2 separate regions of the Homo sapiens genome follow, and region 1 is linked to region 2. The links are contacts of gene promoters, found by promoter capture Hi-C in blood cells and fetal thymus (Javierre and others, 2016). All regions are on one chromosome and are shown on one strand. The core of a region is centred on a gene start or on the middle of the fragment in contact, and the rest is flanking DNA. Distances in the headings are between cores, read along the strand shown.

Region 1 (6,162 bases), core at 3,289-5,788, 680 kb before region 2:
GTCCTCCCCTCACGCCATCTTGCCCCGCCTGGGGTGCAGGGCCTTTCTCTGCCGTGTAAGGAAGCAGCTCCCCTCCATCCCCCAAGCTGGAAGAACCAAGACGCCCCAACACAGGACAGAATCCGCCGTCCCTGTCAGACCCAAATGCCAGAGCAATTAGCCCTAATGAGGCCATCAGATGGAGCCCCACAGCAGGGCGGGCGGAGCGCATGGACGAGGTGGGCCCCGGAACAGCCGCCCTGCCAGTCGATCGGATGCACTTAGGGATAATTGGGTGTTTGGAAGTCAGGCCCAGAGCGAGGCCGGCAGAGCAGGCACCACGCCTCCTTCGGGCTCTGAGCCTGTGGGCTGCCTCTCCTCCTCCACACCCTGGACAGGCAGCCGGACCCTCCCTGTCCCCCACAGACGGCTCCCTGCCCCCCTTCTGCTACTGCTGCTGCCCACCTGGGGCTCCACTTTCCCTTCCCCACCAAATCCTGCCAGGCCCTCAGGCCCGGGCTGCCCTCCTCCTCCAGGCAGTCCCCCAGTGGCCTCCTCTCTGAGTCCCTCCAGCCTGGACAGCCAGTGCTGTCCTTCCATCCTTGTTGCCTGTAGGGACTGCCTCAGTGTTGAGACCCACCATGTAGGGGGCCGAAAAGAGGGTCCTGACTCAGCCCCTTGGGCCCTGGACTCAGTTTTGCCATCCACACAGTGGGGGGCATCAGGGATTAGCAGTTGCAGGCCCTTGTGGGAGGAGGGGTCAGCCTTGAGCCCCTTGTGTGTGTGGGACCCCCAAAGGCCCACAGACACAGACCAGCGAAAACTCCAGGCCAAGCTCTGGTGCGTGGGTTCCCAAGCCTGGCTGCACACACAACCAGGGTGCTCTCGGCAATTCCAGCATCTCCATACCCCTGGAGCCTCTTGTCCTGGTGTGGGCTTCCTGGTGATGTGGGCCAGCCAGGTATGGGTGGAACCGTCCTACTCCCCCTCCAGCCCTAAGCCTGAGCCAGCCTGAGTCTGGCATGGAGCTCCTGGAGCCAGGTGAGCAGTGAGGGGTGCTTCCAGGGAAGGGGATCCAGTGGCCAGAGGGTCCTGTGGGACCGAGTCGGGCAGAGGTGGAGGCAGAGGGAGGGAAAGGGTACGAAGGGGGCAGGTTACAGAGCCAAGCAAGAGAAGTCACCGTGGTCCCTGGCAGCCAGGCATTCAGCTGGAAGGAAGGGCATCCGGGTGGGCGGGGTGCGCATCTCCTACCCACAGGGCATCTCCCCAGCTCCCAGCGCCCCTCACTGCTCACCTGGCTCCAGGAGCTCCATGCCAGACTCAGGCTGGCTCAGGCTTGGGGCTGGAGGGGGAGTAGGACGGTTCCACCCATACCTGGCTGGCCCACATCACCAGGAAGCCCACACCAGGACAAGAGGCTCCAGGGGTATGGAGATGCTGGAATTGCCGAGAGCACCCTGGTTGTGTGTGCAGCCAGGCTTGGGAACCCACGCACCAGAGCTTGGCCTGGAGTTTTCGCTGGTCTGTGTCTGTGTGGGAGACAGAGTGTGCATTCAAGGGTGTGTGTGTGTGCGCGTGTGTGTGTGTGCCAGGAAGCATGTGTGGGAGTGCTTCTCTGCGTGTACATGTGTTGTACATGCTTCTAAAATTATTCATGTGAGTGTATGATTTTATGTCCACATGCATGCATGCGTGTGTTTGTGTAAGTGTGTGTGTGTGTCCTATGTATGCATGTGCATGTGTGTGTACAGTAGGGGCTTAGAAGAGCTGACCAGCCATTGATATGGAACAAACAGGGTGACCCCAGCTCCTGTGTCCCTCCGGACTCTCACACGACATCATGGCCAAGGTCCCCACCGGCCCTGAGTTCCTGCCAGGTGCTCCTGGTTTCTTGCAGACCCCTCCGGGCACCCAGCCTCGCCCCCATGCCGGTGACTCAATCAGACCTCCGGTCCCCACCCTCTGCCCCCTCCCCCTGGCTCTTGACAGCCTCTGACAAATTAGTCGAGTGAAAAGCAATAAGAGCGGCATTCAGTTCTCATTAGTCACTCACCGAGGCGGCAGCTGTGCTTTGACAGCAAATCACATCTCATTGCAAGGCCACAGCCCGCCCTGGCCCCCCAGCAGTGCCAGTGCCACGGGCTTGGGTGCTAGTCACCTGGCCTGTGGCAGGGAGAAGATGTGGTCCCACCGCTGCTCTGAGCTGAGGCAGGTCCACACCCAGGGCTCATGTGCTTCATTCCATCTGTGCTGTGACTCCCCTTCCCAGCCACACGTGTAGACTTGGAGGCCCCACCTGGGGAGAGGAGCCCCGCCTGTGGCCTGCACGGCCCTGGGCTGCGTTCACAGGGGACCTGGGCAGGCAGCTGCATGCATGGAGGATGGTGGGAGGCACTGGGGCATTTGCCCACAAGATGCAGACTCTGGGAGGGGAGGAGGTGACCTCAATGCCACCTCTCCCAAGGGCGATCAGAGGAAGGAGGCCCAGCTTGGACATACAGGGCCTGAGGAGAGGGGCCTTGGAGGCAGCCACATACAGACATGGAGGAGAGGCCGCACACTGGGTCAGAGCCGGGGAAACAGAACAGGGGTGCGGAGGACCCCTTGCATCACCTAGGACCCGTCTGGCCAGCCACTGTAGGCTCCTCTGCTTGGCCCCACGGCCTCGCCAGGGCCTTCTGTGGCCCCGCCCCTCTTGGCCGGCTGTCCACACACCCTCCACCCTGGGGGCAGCTGGGCTCAGATTTGGGAGCATCCTGGAACAGAGGGGACCCCCTGTGTGTCTCCTGTCCCTGAATCCTGTCCTTCCCTTCTGCACCTGCCTGACTTTGGGGGCCTGCAAGAGCAAGAGCCCCTCGCCCATGGAGTTCACCTCCTGCCACCCTGTGCTCCTGAGGGCGGGAAGGGAGGAGCAGCCCAGGCCTCTAGTTCTTGTTTCAGATGAGGGTTGGACGTGGCTGCTGAGGTCCCCAGTTGGCCCCACGCTGACACTTTACGGACAACACGGCAGAGACCCCCACCGCCTGAGAGAATGCAAAGGTCCCACTGCGGTGAGATGAGTCTCCAGGGGGCTTGGTAACGCTTCCATGGGCAACTCGATCGTAAACATCCTTATTTTCCCTCCACCCGTGCTCAGGAGAAACGTGTTGCTCCCTTGGGCTCTGGAAGCCCTGAGCCGATGGGCAGACCTGGAGGGAAGCCCGCAGGTGGCCTGCTCAGGCAGTGGCTGCTGTGACCGCCTTGTCCAGGGGCTGGTCCAGATGCCCTAGGTTCCCCGAACCAACATCACCACCCCCCCATGGCCGGGTGGCCCCCTCTCTCGAGGACTCACTGGGCCTGCAGGGGGGCAGCTTTCTCTGCCCCCACCCGTGGGCTGCTGGTTTGGGCCTGGAAGTGCGTCCGCCCCACTCCGGCCAAGCTCAGTCTCCCCACTCTCCTCAGCCTGCTACCCCATGGGAACCAGCCCGGGCTGGGGCTGAAAGAAGAGCCCCTGGCCCCAGTGAGACCCTCTGAGCCCCTCCCCAGGTGCCCCGGGCTGGCCCAGCCCAGGTCCTGAGCAGGAGCAGGAAGGAGGAGGTGGGCGCATTCACTTCAGGTACCTCTGCTAATCCCGGGGCTCGGAGGAGCCCCCACCCCCGGCTGACATTTCCAGGCCGCTGCGTGCCGCTGCCCCAGCCGCCGTGATATTTAGACAGGGCTTGTTTGCCATGTGATTACTTTGGGGCCTGGGATGAACTCTACCAACACCTGAGCTTGTCCGCTTTGCTCCAAAGCTTGTTTTTAATACACTCGCTGTCAGCTAAGCCGGCTCCCTCCAGCTGTGGGGTCCGGTCCCCTCCTGGGCCAGAGGGAGGACTAAGCCCAGGTTTTCCTCAGGAAGACAGATGCCTCCTCACTTTCCACACTGAGGGCAGGTCCCAGGAGGCTGGAAGGCTCCATCGTCCCCACCCAGCCCCCAGGTGAATGAACTCACTCATTCACTGATTCACGCAGCAAGCATTTCCTGGGTGCCCTTTGGGAAACAGCACGGAAAGGGAAACAGCACGGTCCCAATTTTGGAGGCTCTCATAGTCTGGGGGAAGGGAGGCCCACGGTCCTCACATCCAGTACAGCCGAGACCCTGCCAGGGGCGGCCAGGGAGGTGTCTGGAACAGCCCCCTCCAAGTGGGAAGCACATGGCCCCTGTCCCCACCCCAGCATGGCCTTGGGGGTGGGGGACCTGCCATGCTTCAGGGAGGGTGAGGCCAGTGGCCAGCACAGCACAGTTCGGGGCACACAATGGGGAGGTGGAAGGGCTGTGGTGTGGCCACACTCCCCTCACCCCACAGTCTCCAAAAGAGGATTTAACTTCTATTTTTTAAATGTTTATTTTGAGAGACAGGGTCTTTGTCACCCAGGCTGAAGTGCAGTGGCTTGATCATGGCTCACTGAAGCCTTGACCTCCCGGGCTCAAGCCATCCTCCCATTTCAGCCTCCCAAGTAGCTGGAGCTGCAGGGGCACACCAGCACGCCTGGCTATTTTTAAAAATTTTTTTGTAGAGAGGGGGTCTCACTGTGTTGCCCAGGCTGGTCTCAATCTCCTGGCCTCAAGTAATCCTCCCACCTTAGCCTCCCCAAATTCTGGGATTACAGGCTCGGCTACCACACCCGGCCAGGATTCCAAATCCTTGCAAGTTCCCCAGATTCTGGGCCTGGGGAGCCTCCCGGGATCTTCTGGGCCTCTGTTCTGTCTGCCAAGGCTGCTTTCTAGGGGAGGAAAAGTAACCAGAAACCAGGAGGCCTGAGCTCCTGGCCAGCAGGTCTCAGGAAAACTAGGGCCTGAGAAGCATCAAGAGCCCTGTCACAGAGCTGGTGGGGCCACAACCCAGGCCACTCCCATCCCCAGGAGCCAGGAGAAACTGGGCGGGCCCTTGGGATGAAGAACTGTCACCAAGGCTGCTGGGCCCCCCACCCTGTGCAATCAGATTGGGGAGCGAGGGCGTCCCGGAGATGGAGCAGGTGGGGCAGGGTGTGGACCCTGTGTCCCTGGGGCCCTGGGGGCCACAGGTGTAGGGAGACACCTTGGTCTCTGCACAGCAGCCATAGTGGCTTCTGGCTCCTTCCCTGCACTGTCAGCCTCAGCCTCAGCCAGTCCGGGTCAGTCCGGGCCAGGCGGGCAGCCAACCCAAGAAAGCCCCTACTCGTGCAGCCGAGGACACAGAGGGGGCAAAAACTGCATCCAGGGAAGAAAGGGCTGTGGGCAGGTGCCACAGGCCAGGGCTGAGAGGGCGGGCACCCTCTGTGGAGCCGACCTTGGAGCAAGGCTGCCCGGGCAGGAGTCTCCCAGCGCAGGGCACGGCCCATGCAGAAGCTTCCGACCGGAGAGCTGGTGGCACGCCCAGGACCCTCCCTCCCGCCAGGGCCTCGGTCCAGACCCACCCGTCCTCATCTTAGGCAGGGCTTATTGGCCGTGCGATTACTTTGGGGCCTGGGATGAACTCAGCTGGACGCCTCAGCTTGCCGCCTGTTTTTAATAAAGGGTCCCCCAAACAGGGGACCTTCCTTCTGCCCCGCCCCCGCCCCACAGGTCCCCAGCAGCGGCACCTTTCTGCGTGTGTGTGACCGATTCGTTCACGTCGACTCCTCCCCTGGACAGAGGCTTCTGGAAAACTAAAGTTGGCCCCTTGGTTCCCCCCTTGCCAGGCAGGGCTGGCCCTCAGAGCCTGGTGGATGAACAGACCAGGAGGGAAGTTTGGGAACACCCGGCTCAGAGATGAGAAGAGAGGGTGGATCAGCCGCCACATGGCAAAGCCATGGGCCAGCTCTCCCTGCCACGGCCAGTGGACCCGGGACTTGGGTTCTCCAGCATGGGCCCAGGCGGCTCGGAGCAGGGGCTGCTTCCCTCCGGCCCTTTCCCCGAAGCCCGCTCCCTTCTCCACCCCCGTCCCTGCCCACTCCCCGCAGGCCGGGGTGCACTTGGAGCCCCGAGGACCTCCGAGGCTGTCGCCACCCTCCTCTGTTCTGACTGCTTTCTATTACTGGGCTTGTAAAATGATTATTGTTTTGCTGTGGTAAGATGTACATAATATAAGATTTACCTGTTTTTTTTGTTTGTTTGTTTGTTTTCGTTTTTGATTTTTTTTTTTTGAGGCAGGGTTTCAGTCTGTCCCCCAGGCTGCAGTGCAGTGGCACAATTTTGGCTTA
Region 2 (5,929 bases), core at 761-3,260:
CCAACCCGCAGGCTCAGAGGCAGCCCTGCCTTCCACAGACCAGGCCACGAGTTGCCTGTCACTCAGCTCTTCTGCCTGGTTGGTCACACTGAAAAGAGCATCCCGTGGCTGGGAGGCATGGATATCAGCTCCAACTCGGCTCAGGAAGCAAGAGCTGGAAACCCAGGCGCAGGAGGCATCTTCAGGCCCGGCGCATGCTGTGGCAGCTGCCCCAGGTCCTCCCAAACGCCACCTGCCAAACTGGCCCTCCTCCCCATCTGGGTTTAGCAAACTCCTACTCATCCTCCAAAGCCCAGAGCGAAAGGGCTCCTCTTCCATGATGCTCCTCTTCCAAAAGCAGCCCAGGGTCTCCCCTACGGCACTCAGCACCCACCGCAGACACTGTCTGTGTCCTTGAAGCTGATCTCCCTGCCAGACGGGCAGCGGCCCTCGAGGGCATTGCAAATGGGATGCCTGACAAGAACAACCCTTGAGGATTAGGAAATAGGGGTCTGCTGGAAGCCAATGCAGGCTGGATCTGAGACCTCCTGAAGACAAAGCGCAGGGAGCTGTGCTCATGCTCACACTGGGCATGGGGTTCACACTGTCTGCTGAGGGCTGCTTCCCTGTCCTGGAGGATGGGAAGGACAGAGGGGAAAGAGGGGCTCACCCACATCCTGCTCTCTGCACAGTGCCCCCTCCAGCGCCTGTCCACACAGACCAGCCGCACTGCAGTCCCTCAGAAGCCCTAGGGTTCCACCCCATCTATGCACCCTCTCCCTGGGTTCATGCCTGCTCCCCTGGGCCCACCCCACCCATGCGCCTACTCCCCCCACAGCCCACCCATCCCCAGAACCCTCCTTGCCCACATGCCACAGCAGTATACTTTTGAAGGCAACACTGAAGGTGGGGAGTTTCTGAAATCCTCTGTGCTTCCATCTCCTCTATGGGCGCACCCCAAGAGGTTGGGAGAGCGAGGTGCTGGTGCCCAGCCCAGCACAGATAGATGAGGCCACCGTCCAGTCTACTTCGTTTTTCCAGACATCTCACACCCATAACTGGCCTGAGGAACCTCATTCCAGCTTCCAAAGAACACGGAGTGCCAAGCACCACCACACCCCAGGCTCCACACCTCCCAGAACCCTTGTGGTAGGGGAAGGAGGGGGTTACTCTGCCCCATTTACCTAAGGGAAACTGTAAGGCCTGGATGGAGAAGTGCCCCCCCTCCAGCTCACACGGCTACCAGGCCAGAGACCTTTGCCCCACCACACATGTTGGCCCACAGATGAGGCGGTGAGTCATTCAGCCACATCACAGACGGGAGATCCCCTGCCCCTTGGGAGGAGCTGGAGTCCCCACACCTGGGATCCAGTGCCAGGCTTTAGCACGGACCCCTGTGTGCCCACACCCACCCTGTCTGAACCCCCCATTAAGGGACTCGTGTTTACACACCGGTCCCTGAGTCCCCGATTTCTGAGAAAATTAATTGGCAGGGTAATTCTCACTAGAGTGTTGTTGACTTCTCCATTTGTAGCTTGCTCTTTCTGACAGTATCTGCACTGCAGAGGGAGAACCTGAAGAAGACCTCACCTGAGCTCCGAGGTGTGGATTTCTGGGCAGATTTGAGACTTTGTGGCCCCTGCTAAGGGGATATAATTGAGGGTCCCCATAAATCATGACTCGGTCTATGAGGAACCAGCACCTAGCTGCATCCCCAGCCTCTTCCTTCTTCACACCCAAGCAAAACCCCAGGTTCCAGCCCCACCTAGCAGACTGAGGGCAGGCCATGGTCCCCCCTGCTCCATTCCAGACTCCACTCTGGCTTTTCTCCTTCAGGAAACCTCCTCATAACCCTCAGGCTGGGTCCGGGGCCCAGGCCCTACAGATGTGCTGGGTGCTGGTGCTGACAGACAGGACGGCAACCGTAGCTGGACCTCACCCTGGACAGCATCGCCACAACCCCCACTGGTCCACCTGGGAGAACAGAGACCCAGAGATAGCCACACACTGTCCTCTGTGCCCCTCATTGCCCCCCAGGCCTTTGGAGGTTCTGGGGGTGGCTACTGCAGTTTAATTTGGGCCACAACCCCTAATGAGCAGCCCAACGGCATGGGGGGCAGTTTGTAGGCACCCAGAGCCTGAGCAATGTGGCAGAAAGTCCAGGGGGCCTTCCAGGGGCCTCCAAGTGACCCAGGTATCTGGCAGAGCCCAGCTGGCCCCAGGGCTCCCAGTCCCGGCCTCCTGCTCCCCGGCCCATTGGCCCTGGCTGCAGCCTCAGTTGTACCAGCTGGGGAGTCCCAGATTTCCTGTACCACCACCCCACACACTTGGTCCCCTAAAGACCTGATACTGAGCTCTTGCTAATCATCTGGCTGTCACTAAGCTGCCCCACAACCATTTTCAAAGAGTCCCTGATTTTTAAGGCCCATAAAACACTGTGAAATGGCCTTTTTCAAACATTGAGGGCATTAATGACCATGGCAAAAACAAAAACCTGTCCAGGTGGCCAGTTTTTAGTAGCTCCCAATACAAAATTGCCCCCACCACGCAGCCCCCACCTGTCCACGCCCCCTCCACTTACCCACCCCGAGGGATTCTAGCCAGGACCCCTGCGTCCTGAGAAATCCTTTCCAGGAGTAGGCTGGGGAATACCGGCCCAGAGGGGCGAGGACCGGATGGGGGCAGGGGTAGGGTTCAAGGGGCCAGGGTCCCAGGGGCTCTCCTGGAGGCTGCAGAGGAACCCAGCCTGGGTGGGGGGCTCCGACGCTCCACAGCCTGTCCTGGCCCGGCCAGGCCCGGCCCGGCCCGGCCCCCTGCCCAGTCGCGGCACTGCCCGGCCCGACCCCCAGACCTTCGGGGTGCCCAGTCCGAGCCTGGGCCGCTAGGGGCCGCGGGCCTGGCGGGCGGGGCGGGGGCCGGGGTCGGGGGTCCGGCGAGCTTTAATGCGCGCACAAAGCCTCATTTGCAGGTCAATGCCGCGGCACACTCGCCTCTCCCCTCGCCCGGCGCCCTTTGTCCGGCCGCGCCCGCTCCTCGCGCCAGATGGCCGCGGAAATGCTAATTTCGGGCGCCCCTGCCCCCCCACCCCCGCGTTTAATTGCGCCTTTGCAGATGGGCCGCGAGTGTGCGCTTCATGCAGATGAGCGCGGCCTCGCCGCCTTCCTCGGACCTCCGGGAGCCGCGGCCGGGCGTGCTGGGGCCGAGGGCAGGGAGGGGGCCGCTGTCCCTCCACTCGACGCGCCGCCGGGCACGGGCGGGCACCCAGCGGCCCGGGCCCGGGAAGCGCGCTTCTCTCTTTTCATTTCTCCAAAATGGGATCTTAAGTGATTCTGAATGAAAACAAATTGGCCCGCTTTCTTCTCCAAACAGACGCGCGGCGCGGTGGGGGCGGCGGGCGCGGGCCCGGGGCGGCCCGGGCGGTGGGGTTGGCTCCGGGACCCCCTGCCCGGCCCGGCCCTCGCGCCTTCTCCCCGCGGCCCGCCTTCCTCAGCCCTGGGCCGGCGGCACTTGGAGGCGGCCGGGCAAGACGGCAGACGTGGGGGCCCCTTTAACCGGAGCCAAGGATCCCCGGACTTTCTGACCAACCAGGAGCAGAAGCCCGCCAGGTCACCCTCGCCTTTCATGACAGAAACAGATTCCCAGGCTGGTCGGAGCGCAGAAATGAGGCAGGCCAGGGCCGGCCTCCGCCACCCCGCCCATCTCCAGCCCCAGCAGGAGCCTGGCCCAGGCCTCTGGCCCCACAGCGCCAGGGAGCATCCTCCGGGAGCCCAGGCCTGCCTCGAAGCCTAGGGCTGGGGCAGGCTGGGCAGAGTGAGGGAGGGAGGCAGTTTCTTTGTGATGTGTCCACTTTACTAGCAAAATTTCAACCACAAACTTAGAAAACCTATACATTGGTGGGTGATTCACTTGCTCCACCACCAGCGATGAAACAGAGACAGAGCCACGTTCTGGGTAAGTAAGAATACTCCCAATACAAAACTCAGCCACAGACCTTTAAAAAGAAAAGGGTGCCGGGCGCGGTGGCTCACGCCCGTAATCCCAACACTCTGGGAGGCCGAGGCGGGAGGACTGCTTGAGCGCAGGAGTTCCAGTCCAGCCTGCACAACCTGGCGAGGTCGCATCTCTACAAAAAATCTTCTGATTTTTTTAGCCAGGCGTAGCGGCGCGCCTGTAGTCCCAGGAAGGATCACTTGAGCCTGGGAGGTGGAGGCTACATAGAGCCATGACTGTGCCACTATACTCCAGCCCAGGTGACAGAGTAAGACCCTATCTCAAAAAAGAAAGAAAAAAAAGAGAAAGAGAAAGAAAGAGAGAAGAAGGAGGAGGAGGAGGAGGAGGAGGGAGGAGGGAGGAAGAAAGGAAAGAAAGAAGAAAAAGAAAGGAAGAGAAAGAAAGAAAAAGAAGAGATAAAGAAAGAAAAAAGAAAGAGAAAGAAAGAAAGAAAGAAAGAAAGAAAGAAAGAAAGAAAGAAAGAAAGAGAAAGAAAATCATCTGTTCCTGAAACATTCTGTGATACTTTCGTAATTTGCTCAGCCAGAGGACTGAAAGTGCAGGCGGATCCCTCAGCCTTGGGCTCAGCTGGGACTGAAGTCAGCTGACAGAGTGAATCTGGCCCAACTGCCACCAGTCTGACTCTGGCACCCTGGCCCTGGCGTGACCTTCACAGCCGCACCCCCCACCCCCCACCTCCGCCTCAATGCCCACCCTCCAGCTCCACATCACTGAGCCTGCCCTGCTGCGCCCTTGCACGGGCACCCTGGCTGCCAGCTCTCCTCCACCCATTCCTCCTCTGAGTGTCCTCAGGCCCCTCAGGGGCTGCTCTTCCCTGGACACCCAGGAGCCTCAACCTTTGCCCTGTGCCACACCTCCCTCACCTGGCTCTTGAAAGGAGTCCCATCCACCTTCCCCTCAGGGTGAAGCTCAGGGCCTGGCCCACACCCCTGCTGGTACTCAAGGCCCACCTGGGGGACCTAATGGGGGGTTCCAGTAGACACCGAGGCCGAGGCCGGAGGGCTCAGCCACCCTTGTCACCCATCCTGCAGGGCACTGTCTCATGGGTGCCAGCACAGTGACATGCCGTGGGCTGGGGGAAGCTGGCTCATAGAATATGCACGGCCAGGACGCACCGTGGAAATTTCCATGGTCACGGGATGGAAACCATTTCCTATCAATAAAATAACAGGTGCCCCGTCAGAATCCCCCTTTCATTTCTTTCCAGGAAACAGTTCAAATGGGATGGTTACACCCATTTGAGACAAACATCTCTTGGTCCTAACCCCTTGTGGTTGCTTCATTAACCAGAGGCCTCCATCTTCCTCTGGGGAAGACAGTGCAGCCCAGCTGCCCTCCGCCTCCAAACCCTCCCTGGGCCCTGAGGTGCCGTGTGGACCCACTGCTGCAATCGCCATGTTCACCCCACACTCGAGGGTAGACCCAGAGCATTTGAACTGTCCTCGTACTCCCTCGGCCACTTCTCAACAACAGCGCATTCCCAATCCTGTAACCTGGGGCCTTTCCCTAACACATTTAAAAGACGCCAGCCGCCTTCTCCCGCCCTAGCACTGTCACCAGCTGCTTGTACTCAACTCTCTGCCAAACTGTTACTTTGTTTATCACACTCAGATTACGGGTCTCTTGAACAGTTTGTTATGGTTAAATACTTTCAATTAAAACAGTATATGTTTGTGTGTGTGTATACAAATAGATAGACATTCTAATACTTTAAAATAGGTACTTTGAGCTGGGCACAATGGTGCACACCTGTAGTCCCAGCTACTCCAGAGGCAGAGGTGAGAGAATCTCTTGAGCCCAGGAGTTCCAGTCCAGATTGGACAACATAGCAAGACCCTGTCTCTATTAAAAATATACCTTTATGCCAGATGCCTATAATCCCAGCACTTTGAGAGGCCGAGGCAGGAGGATCACTTGAGCCCAAGAATTGGAGACCAGC

What was found. The method cuts DNA at HindIII sites, captures the fragments that hold promoters and counts their contacts. A CHiCAGO score of 5 or more calls a contact.
Region 1: a fragment that was not itself captured here is called in contact with the fragment with the promoter of KCNQ1-AS1 in region 2 in 3 of 17 cell types (M1 macrophages, naive CD4 T cells and total B cells); the score reaches 6.4 in M1 macrophages.

Annotation. Positions count from the first base shown.
Region 1 is chr11:2,177,029-2,183,190 of GRCh38, forward strand. No RefSeq gene overlaps it. Among named protein-coding and RNA genes, the nearest start is that of MIR4686, 7.0 kb to the left of the region's middle. RefSeq lists an enhancer at 1-654. The HindIII fragment of the contact is 1,577 bases long and covers 3,751-5,327 here.
Region 2 is chr11:2,859,559-2,865,487 of GRCh38, forward strand. KCNQ1-AS1 (KCNQ1 antisense RNA 1) reads right to left here and starts at 2,011. Exons shown (of 3, transcript NR_130721.1): 1 at 1,432-2,011. RefSeq lists an enhancer at 3,401-4,098. The HindIII fragment of the contact is 10,846 bases long and covers 1-5,929 here.